2 separate regions of the Homo sapiens genome follow, and region 2 is linked to region 1. Evidence: promoter capture Hi-C in 16 types of primary human blood cells and fetal thymus (Javierre and others, 2016). All regions are on one chromosome and are shown on one strand. The core of a region is centred on a gene start or on the middle of the fragment in contact, and the rest is flanking DNA. Distances in the headings are between cores, read along the strand shown.

Region 1 (5,021 bases), core at 1,149-3,648:
TAAAACTGGTTTTATGACAATAACCATGACCACATAAACCAAGAGTCTCCTCTGTAACCCACACAATAAGAAAGTTGCCCCCTCTCCCTCTCCCTCTCCCTCTCCCCACGGTCTCCCTCTCCCTCTCCCTCACGGTCTCCCTCTCCCTCTCTTTCCACGGTCTCCCTCTGATGCCGAGCCGAAGCTGGACTGTGCTGCTGCCATCTCGGCTCACTGCAACCTCCCTGCCTGATTCTCCTGCCTCAGCCTGCCAAGTGCCTGCGCGCTGCCACGCCTGACTGGTTTTCGTATTTTTTTGGTGGAGATGGGGTTTTGCTGTGTTGGCGGGGCTGGTCTCCAGCTCCTAACCGCGAGTGATCCGCCAGCCTTGGCCTCCCGAGGTGCCGGGATTGCAGACGGAGTCTCGTTCACTCAGTGCTCAATGGTGCCCAGGCTGAAGTGCAGTGGCGTGATCTCGGCTCGCTACAACCTCCACCTCCCAGCCGCCTGCCTTGGCCTCCCAAAGTGCCGAGATTGCAGCCTCTGCCCGGCCGCCACCCCGTTTGGGAAGTGAGGAGCGTCTCTGCCTGGCCGCCATCCCATCTAGGAAGTGAGGAGCGTCTCTGCCCAGCCGCCCATCGTCTGAGATGTGGGGAGCGCCTCTGCCCCACCGCCCCGTCTGGGATGTGAGGAGCACCTCTGCCCGGCCGCGACCCCGTCTGGGAAGTGAGGACCGTCTCTGCCCGGCCGCCCCGTCTGAGAAGTGAGGAGACCCTCCGCCCGGCAGCCGCCCCGTCTGAGAAGTGAGGAGCCCCTCCGCCCAGCAGCCGCCCCGTCAGGGAAGTGAGGAGCGTCTCCACCCGGCAGCCACCCTCTCCGGGAGGGAGGTGGGGGTCAGCCCCCGCCAGGCCAGCCGCCCCGCCCGGGAGGGAGGTGGGGGGGTCAGCCCCCCGCCCGGCCAGCCGCCCCGTCCGGGAGGGAGGTGGGGGCGGTCAGCTCCCCGCCCAGCCAGCCGCCCCGCCCGGGAGGGAGGTGGGGGCGGTCAGCCCCCCGCCCGGCCAGCCGACCTGCCCGGGAGGGAGGTGGGGGGGTCAGCCCCCCGCCCGGCCAGCCGCCCCGTCCGGGAGGGAGGTGGGGGGGTCAGCCCCCCGCCCCGCCAGCCGCCCTGTCCGGGAGGTGAGGGGCGCCTCTGCCCGGCCACCCCTACTGGGAAGTGAGGAGCCCCTCTGCCCGGCCACCACCCCGTCTGGGAGGTGTACCCAACAGCTCATTGAGAACGGGCCATGATGACAATGGCGGTTTTATGGAATAGAAAAGGGGGAAAGGTGGGGAAAAGATTGAGAAATCGGAAAGTTGCTGTGTCTGTGTAGAAAGAAGTAGACATGGGAGACTTTTCATTTTGTTCTGTACTAAGAAAAATTCTTATCCTGTTGATCTATGACCTTACCCCCAACCCTGTGCTCTCTGAAACATGTGCTGTGTCCACTCAGGGTTAAATGGATTAAGGGCGGTGCAAGATGTGCTTTGTTAAACAGATGGTTGAAGGCAGCATGCTCCTTAAGAGTCATCACCACTCCCTAATCTCAAGTACTCAGGGACACAAACACTGCAGAAGGCCGCAGGGTCCTCTGCCTAGGAAAACCAGAGACCTTTGTTCACTTGTTTATCTGCTGACCTTCCCTCCACTATTGTCCTACGACCCTGCCAAATCCCCCTCTGCGAGAAACACCCAAGAATGATCAATAAAAAAAATAAATAAATAAAATAAAAAAAAGAAAGTTGCACAGCATATTCCAACAAATATCAGTTTGGTACCTTTAGAGCCTTACTTTGTTGTAGTGATTATCAGCTGAAAATTATGTCTGTTGTAACTTTGGTAAGCATTCCACTTTGGTTATTTATTAGTGGTATTTTTTTTTTAAGTGTCAAGTGTCAAATCTTGGGACTATTAAAATACCATGGTAAGTAAAAAAAAAATATGGTCTGAGAACTGGTACCTATCCACGACATAAGTGCAGAAACTGAGAGTATGAGTTTGCATACTTTCAAAGTTACTCGACAGAGTTATTTCGTATATGCTAAAAAATAATAAGAAAAATCTGTACGTGTCTTTTCCATGTTTACATTTTTAAATTTCATTTTCCTAAGTATATTTTTGTGTATATTATAAAAGTAGTAGACTTCCAAGGACTAGGAGAACAACCTTAGATAGTAGAGAATCACCTAAACGACCTATATCTTCTTCAACAGCTTAAGCTGTGTACTGCGCTAGAGCCTCCCTCAATGAGGAACTACAATGCCCAGAATTCCCCCAAAATGCGTGAGCGACGTCCATTTCACCCACCTCGCCGCGACCCACCCTGGGATATGTAGTGCGTGACTTCCGCAGTGCACGCTGCGCCTGCCGGGCATTTTTTCCTGGTTTGGGGGCAAGGTCTCATGGGAAAGGTCATGTCTCTCGAAGAAAGGTTATAAACCCTGAGATATGAGGGTTGGGCGAGACATCCGAGCCTGTTTCGTTCCGTGTTGGGACCAGGAATAACCCTGACTTCTGAGCTTTCATAACCCCAGGATCCTCCAGAAAATTTGCGGCGCGCTGAGGGAAAACCTTGCTGGCAAGTCGGGACTGTGTGGCAGCGGCTATTTTTCTTTTCCCACCCAGCACGTTTTCGGGCTGGGGACATAGGGTTCAGTTGAGATACGGAGGCTTCCTTCGGGATATTGGGTTCTCTGAAGTGCGGATGGACTAGGGCAGGGCTGAGACCCCATTCATTCACTCATTTGTTTAGCTCTCCTTTATGCCCGGCGCAGAAGATACCCCTTAGGGTCCCAAGGCCCTTCCTGTAGTTAAGTTCCTTCCTTAAGGTCATTCAGCTGGGGCAAAGCTGGGGACTCGACACCTTTCTATGCTAACCATTGAGCTGCCTCCACTTTGAGCAGCTCAGTGGATGAATATAGTATCTTGAGGATACCTTTGATTTGTGCAGGGTTTTCTTGTGCAGGTTTGTGACCCAGGTCAGCTTAGGTCAGGATGCTGTACTGCTTGCCACAAAATAGCCTGTACTGTCGCGTCGTTTTTTCTTGTGAACAGACTGTTTGGCATAGCCGTAGAGAGGGGTCTGAGACATGAATTTAGTGATACAGCGTTGATTTGTTTGTGTAATGAAGCTGTTCAAGTGGAAAGAACTGAGTTGTAGTCCCTGCTTCACTAGTACTAGAAGGATTTTTTAAACCTTTTTGAACCTATTTTGCCTTATCTGTAAAATGGAAATAATATCAACCTGGAAGGTTAGCTGAGAGAATTTAATGAGATAATGTGTTTCAAACGTTCTTTGTAAATGGTAACATGTTGCAGAAATATTAGATTATATGACTTTAGTCCCTGCTTTTCTAACCATTACTTCTCAATTATAAATGTAAACATTTATAGCATATTTTTAAAACAAATTATTCTTTTTTCATAATTATCTTTAGTTCTTTTATTGTTTCAGCATGACTTGAAACATTACTTAATTTCTTAGTATTTCTTGATTGGTGCTTTAATTGTGTCGTTCATTGGTTAAAACCTATCCAAGGCCAGTAATGATTAAATTATATGACTTCTTTTATTTATTTATTTTCTAAAGAAAGGAATTATTTGAGCTCTTTAAGGGCACAAGAAAAAGGGGCAAGAAATTATCCTGAAAGCAAATAAACCTGAGACCATACTTCTGAAAAATTAAAAAAAAAAAGTATATATATATGTATGTATAAATATATATGGCTCTGAATTAATGCCTACACTTTTTAGAAACTTTGAAGGTGATTATTTATTTTAAACAATTTTCCTCTTTTTCGAAAAGACAGCTCTGAGTTTGTGGGCTTTTTTTTTCCTTTTATGGTAAATTTGAAAACTTTATGTAAATGTCAGATTTAAAACACTTTTAAAATGGGGTGCAGAAAGAAGCCCCTTTTTCTGGACATTTATTTTTTGATCAAATTCTGCTATCTGGTTTAGACTAAGAAAAAGTCTTTAGTTAATGCAGAAAAAATGTATTACTTTAATTTGAATTTTGGAATCATTTTGATATTAATGATGTAAGCATAACCATGTTAAACCAATTCTTTTATAGAAGCTGTACATTGGAATGCGTTTACAGTCATTGTAATGGAAGCAAAATACATGAAGGAAAAACTGTTATTTGTATCCCTGCTTATTGCACCTGACGACTAGTTGCAGATGGTTTTGTTTACCTAAGAAAACTTGTGATATAAATGAAAAAAACACCTGTTTTCCTAGAGTCATTGGTTACAAATATGCTTCGTCTAAGAGCTATTTGTCCATTCTCCTGGAGAGTGTTTCAATTTCGACCCATCAGTTGTGAACCACTAATTATTCAGATGAATAAGTGTACAGATGAGGAGCAAATGTTTGGTTTTATTGAAAGAAACAAAGCCATACTTTCAGAAAAGCAAGTGGGATGTGCATTTGATATGCTTTGGAAGCTTCAAAAGCAGAAGACCAGCCTGTTAAAAAATGCTGAGTATGTCAGAGACCATCCTCAATTTCTTACTCTTCATAATTTAGCTACAAATAAATTCAAATTAATGAATGACGATACCCTGGTGAATGTGTTATACGTCACACAACAGTAAGTAATTTACTTTTATATTTTATGGAATGATTATATAGTTTACATTTTAATTTTCTAAAAATCTCTTTATTTTCATTTTATTTATTTATTTTTGAGGAGTCTCTGTCGCCCAGGCTGGAGTGCAGTGGCATGATCTCGGCTCACTGCAAGCTCTGCCTCCCAGGTTCACGCCATTCTCCTGCCTCAGCCTTCCGAGTCAATGGGACTACAGGCGCCTGCCACCACGCCCGGCTAATTTTTTTGTATTTTTAGTAGAGACGGGGTTTCACCATGTTAGCCAGGATGGTCTTGATCTCCTGACCTTGTGATCCGCATGCCTCGGCCTCCCAAAATGCTGGGATTACAGGCGTGAGCCACTGTGCCAGGTCTAAAAATCTCTTCAAAATGAAAAATAATTTTTTTCACCAG
Region 2 (5,021 bases), core at 759-3,258, 1.1 Mb after region 1:
CACATCTCTTTCAAATGCATTATCTATCTAAAAGTGAGCCCAGCCAGAATTTATCAGACACAATTTATCATAATTCAGCAATTGTGTGTAGATCCCCTACTATGTGCCAACATAGAGCAAACCTGCTATCCCTGAGTCTGCTTGTTTTTGGAGAGCCTGCAAAACTGTATAGAGTTCATATTTTCTGTAACCAAACATTTGCTCTAGAGGTAACTCTACACCTGCAAACACACCCATTTTTTCACAGCACTGCTGTGACTTTTTTGATCCTTTTTTGTATAGGATCAATGACACATCTGTATTAGATTCCAATAATTTAAACATAGGTCTTAAAGTCTGTTGCTTTGTGCATGTCAATTTCTGCAGGCGAACAGCTGACTTCGTTTTCAAGCAACAATACTGTCCGGTGAAAAATATACCTTCCTGAGACAAAAGATACTTTTTGTCCCCATGAAGCTTTGTTGCCTCGTCCAGCAGCAAATGACTCAAAAGACGCGTTCTGCCACCCTCAACAGTCGTTTTCAGGCAAAGAGGAACAGCAAATGAGGTACCAGCAAAAGCTTAAGAAACAAAACCAAGGTGAGTTGAAGGCGGGGAAGAAAGGCGGAGTGGAAGCGAGAAATGCAATCTAAACTCTACTTTGTGATCTAAGAAATTCAGCCTTTACTGATGAATTGGGCAGAGGAAGGGGAGGGTACAAGAAAGGGGAAGATAATATTTTCTGTTACGAAAAAAAAAGTGTGCTGCTGTCCTGGTTTTCTTTCAGTAGCACCCAGAGAATGCATGGCAGGCACAATCTAGTTTCGCGACGAAAACGAATTCCATGAGAATAACACAAGTTTGTATGTGACACAATGGAGATATCCAACCAAACCGAGGAACTATACAATTGCATGACAATTCCTCAAAATTTTAAGTGCCTTCGAGTACCAAAAAAGAAGTTTATGATTATTCACAGGACAGGGTTATCAGTTTAATATCACCATTTTGCAGGATGTGGACCCGTCCTGTCACATCCTCTTTTAAAGAAACCGCTAATAACCTGAAATGCTATTATCCCCTATTTGCCAGGACTGTGGGCCTGATAGTTTCACGGATAAAAACCAAACAGCGACCAGAAGCCAGGAAGTCCCTGGCGAATTCTTTTGAAGCACAACCCCTACAATCCGTGTGCCGGAGCATAAAGATTGAAGTGTGCGCGGTTCCTCCTCCCTCCGGGCCGCGCGTCCGGAACGTTCCTGGCTGTCAGGTGGGTGGCGCGGGCCCCGGCGGGAAGCCCTGCCTGGCAGCCTTGCGTGGCGCGCCGGCGGAGAGGGGCGAGCCCCGCGGAATGCGGCGGGTCCTGAGCCCGACCACCGCTCACCTTTGTTCGCCTGCCCTTGCCGGGAGGAGAGCAGGGCCCAGGAGGAGGGCAGGGGGCGACCCTAACGCTCCGCGGCTCCTCCCCGGCGCCCGGGAGGAAATCCGTGGCAAGCCAGACCCTTTCTGGCTCCCAGAAAGCCAGCGGGGCAGGGGGGTCAGCAACCCCTCCCCGAACACAAAGGTTGGGAGGCGTGAACGCGAGCGTTGGGGGCGCGGGGGCGTGCGCCAGAGAGCGCGCGAGTGTGTGCGCGCGTGTGTGTGCGCAGGGGGAGGGGAGGAGGGGCTTCAGCCCTTCTTACCTCTCGAAGATGAGCCGCACCATGAAGATACAGAAGGCCAGGGGAAAAGCGAGATAGAGGTCCTCAGCCTGCGGGAAGGTGGCCTCCTCCGTGTTCTTCAGGTCCGCCCAGGTGACATTGTGCGGGAGCCAAAACCTCTCGTTCCAGAACCAGGCTAAGATCCCTGCCATCTTGCTTTGTCCACTCCTGTCCTGCGGCACCCGCAGCCCGCCAAGCTCTCCACCGCGCAGGGCGCCCGGGGATGCGCGCCCGGCTGGCCCCGAGCCTGTGCCGCCGCCGCCGCTGCTCCCGCCCGCCGCCGCCGCCTCCTCCGCGGCCGCTGCTCTCGAAGGCTCGCGGCGAGCCCCGGTTCTCTCCTCCCTCTGGCCGCGCTGGGGAAAGGGGCCGCCTTGCCCGTCACATGGCAGCTCGGGCCGCCCGCCCTGATTGGCTCGTCTTCGCGTCAAACAGCGAGGCACACACGCGGCCAACTCGCCCACACCCGCAGGGCAGGGCGCAGTCGCTGCGCCCTGGGCGCAGGGGCACCGCTCCGGGGAGTGTCGCCCGCCCCTGCTCTCACCGCTCTTTCGCTTTGCGCTTAGGGCGACGACCTAAAGTCGACCCCCCAAATCCGCCCTAGCCCCCTGGCTGGCTCGCACATGCTCAGAATGCTGGCTCCTGCCCCGCTGGGGTTTCAGGGCTCTCAGTCCTCTTCCCGTGCGCCCGGAGGCGGTGGGTCAGCAGGTAGGGGCTGCCGCCAAGCTTCAGAACCAGCCCTGCTCCAGGAGGACAGCAAAAAAAAAAAAAGGGGGGGGGAGGGGGAGGGGTAAAGAGCAAAGGAGGAAGTGGGAGGGAAAGGATCCTCCACTCCCGCGCTTGGAGAGGCAGGGTGAAAAATCAGGAACTGAGGCAGGATGGTTTGGCAAGAGCCTTCTGCCTCTGCCCCACGCCTGCCTTTCCCCAATCTTTGACTTTCCGGTCTTTTATACTGCTGCTTCTCATCAAAGTAGCTCCCCCAGGGAACAAGCCCCCCTATATTGATTTATGAGGTGGTACAAAAAATTAGGCACTTAATTGCTATTTGATTATTAATTGCTACTTGATGACGATGATGATGATGATGATGATGATGATAGCAACTGCAGCGTTCTGTAAAACCACCCCTCTCAACTAACCTCTCTGAAAAGGCTGCTAGACCACATTTTGACCTGGCACATCATGAGAACCTCCACTGTGCTACTCGGCAGGCTCATTATTTCTGCCTTTTGAATCTAAAACCTTTAAGGCATTAGGCCTGTGAGGCCTAACCCAGGCACCTTCCCTCCCGCAATGCATTTCCCCATTGATACAGGAGCCATGTGTGAATTCATTCCATGGCCCATGTATACATGGTTCTGGGGCATTTTTGTTCATTTTTCTCACATTCATTTTCTGCCTGGTGCTGCCAGTAGGCTATACTAAACCTTTCCAGTGGGCATATAACCGCACACACACACACACACACACACACAGAGAGAGGGAGTTTCTTTTACTCTTCCCTCCCCTCTTTCCACTCTATCTCTTGAAAGTGAAACTGAAGAATGGCCTATACTGGTGCTTCCAATTTCTCTCCCCTCATTTTCTTTTGAACTTCCATTTGGACATTTGTCTCCTCTGCTGCATTGAAACTGCCCAAGGTCACCTGTGATCTTCATGCTGCTAAACACAAAGGTCAGTTCTTATCTTAGTCCAGGCTGCTTAGACTAGGTGGCTTAAACAGCAGAATTTATTCCTCACGGTTCTGGAGGCAGGGAAGTCCAAGATCAACATGCAGGCAGATCCAGTGTCTGGCAAGGATCCTCTTCCTGGTTTGAAAACAGCTGTTTTCTTGTGTATCCTCACATGGCAGAGAGCACAGAAAGAGGAAACACAGATTAGTGCCCTATCTTCTTATAAGGGCACTAATCCCATTCATGAAGGTTCTACCCTCATTAGCTAATTACCTCCCAAAGACTCTGTCTCTGAATACTATCACATTGGGAACTAGGATTTCAGCATATGAATTTTGGGGGACACACACATTCAGTTCATAGCAGTTCACAACACCTCTGTCAGTAGCATTTGGCCCAGTTGTCAGGTCGTGTGTCTTAAAACATTCTTGACTTGGCTTCCAGAAACCTCACTCTTCTGGGTTTCTTCCTCCTTCATGGCCATTTCTTCTCAGTCTCCTTCCTGGTTACTCCTCACTTTTCTAACCCCTAGAAGTTATAGTGGCCTAGGAGTCAGTCTTTTTTCCTCTTCACTTTTCTATCTGAATGTATTCATTTGGTGATTTTATCCAGTCTCGTGGCTTTTAATGACATCTGTATGCCCTCCAATGTCATGCTAATAGCTCCCATATTTATATCTCTAGCCATGAACTTTTTCCTGACCTTCTGACTCTTAAATCCACTGGCAATTTAACACCACCACTCAGATGTCTAAAAGCTATCTCATGACCAAACTATTAATCTTCCCCTTGAAATCTCTTCCTCCTGTAGTCTTGGCTCAAGCCAAAAATGTGGAGTCATTTTTTCCCCTTCTCTCTTTCTCTCATACCTCCTTTCCAATCCATCCCAAATCCCATCAGCACCATTTTAAAACCATAATCTCACCATCTCTCACCACCTCCCCTGCTACCATCTTGGTCCAAACAACCAATACTTCTAATTCACATTACTCCAGTAACCTCCCAACTCCCAGTTTCACCCTTTGCCCCTCTACAGTCTATTCTCAGCCAGTGTGATCCTATGCAAATTTGTCAGATCACCCCTGGGGTGAAAACCCTGCTTCTTCCTCATCCCTCCCAAGTGAAAGCCAAATTATTCCAATGACCTGTGATATTTGGTTCCGTATTAACTCTGACTTATTTACTCTTCTCTCTCCTTCACTCTGCCTGAGTCCACACTGGCCACCCTGCCCTTACTGGGACACACCAGCTATGTCTTAGAGCCTTTGTGCTTGCTCTTCTCTGTCCCTGGAACTCTTTTTACACGAACATCCATGTTTGCTCTGTACTGATGTCATTTTCTCCCTGAAGCCTTCCCTGGCCACCCTAGTTAATCTACATCCCTCAATCCCCACCACCACTCTTCCTATCTTGCTTTGTTTTTCTCCAAGACACTTACCACCGTCAACACAAGATATATTGTACCTATATCTTCATCAATCATCCACACAGACATGCACTAAAATGTAAGCTTCAGAAAGTTAAAAGATTTGTATTTATTTTATCAACTGTTCTATTCCTAGCACTTAAAAAAAAAAACTGCCCGGCACATTGTAGATACTCAATAAACTACTGAATAAATGAATCAACATTACTCCAACCCCAAAAAGTCTTCTCAAGGAGAAGAAAAAAAA

What was found. Contacts are between HindIII fragments. The CHiCAGO score rates a contact against its expected background, and 5 or more counts as called.
Region 2: a contact is called between the fragment with the promoter of CERS6 here and the fragment with the promoter of FASTKD1 in region 1, in 10 of 17 cell types (naive CD8 T cells, activated CD4 T cells, erythroblasts and 7 more). The highest score is 14.9, in naive CD8 T cells.

The regions. Positions count from the first base shown.
Region 1 is chr2:169,571,242-169,576,262 of GRCh38, reverse strand. FASTKD1 (FAST kinase domains 1) reads left to right here and starts at 2,398. Exons shown (of 15, transcript NM_024622.6): 1 at 2,398-2,594; 2 at 4,092-4,610. The coding sequence starts at 4,234. RefSeq lists enhancers at 2,187-2,286, 2,189-2,791, 2,647-2,816. The HindIII fragment of the contact is 12,279 bases long and covers 1-4,466 here.
Region 2 is chr2:168,453,259-168,458,279 of GRCh38, reverse strand. CERS6 (ceramide synthase 6) reads right to left here and starts at 2,008. Exons shown (of 10, transcript NM_203463.3): 1 at 1,662-2,008. The coding sequence starts at 1,831. It overlaps LOC102724081 (a long non-coding RNA gene), which reads left to right. Exons shown (of 4, transcript XR_002959433.2): 1 at 1-1,249. RefSeq lists silencers at 1,317-1,376, 1,827-1,956, 2,077-2,166, 2,197-2,416. The HindIII fragment of the contact is 1,842 bases long and covers 563-2,404 here.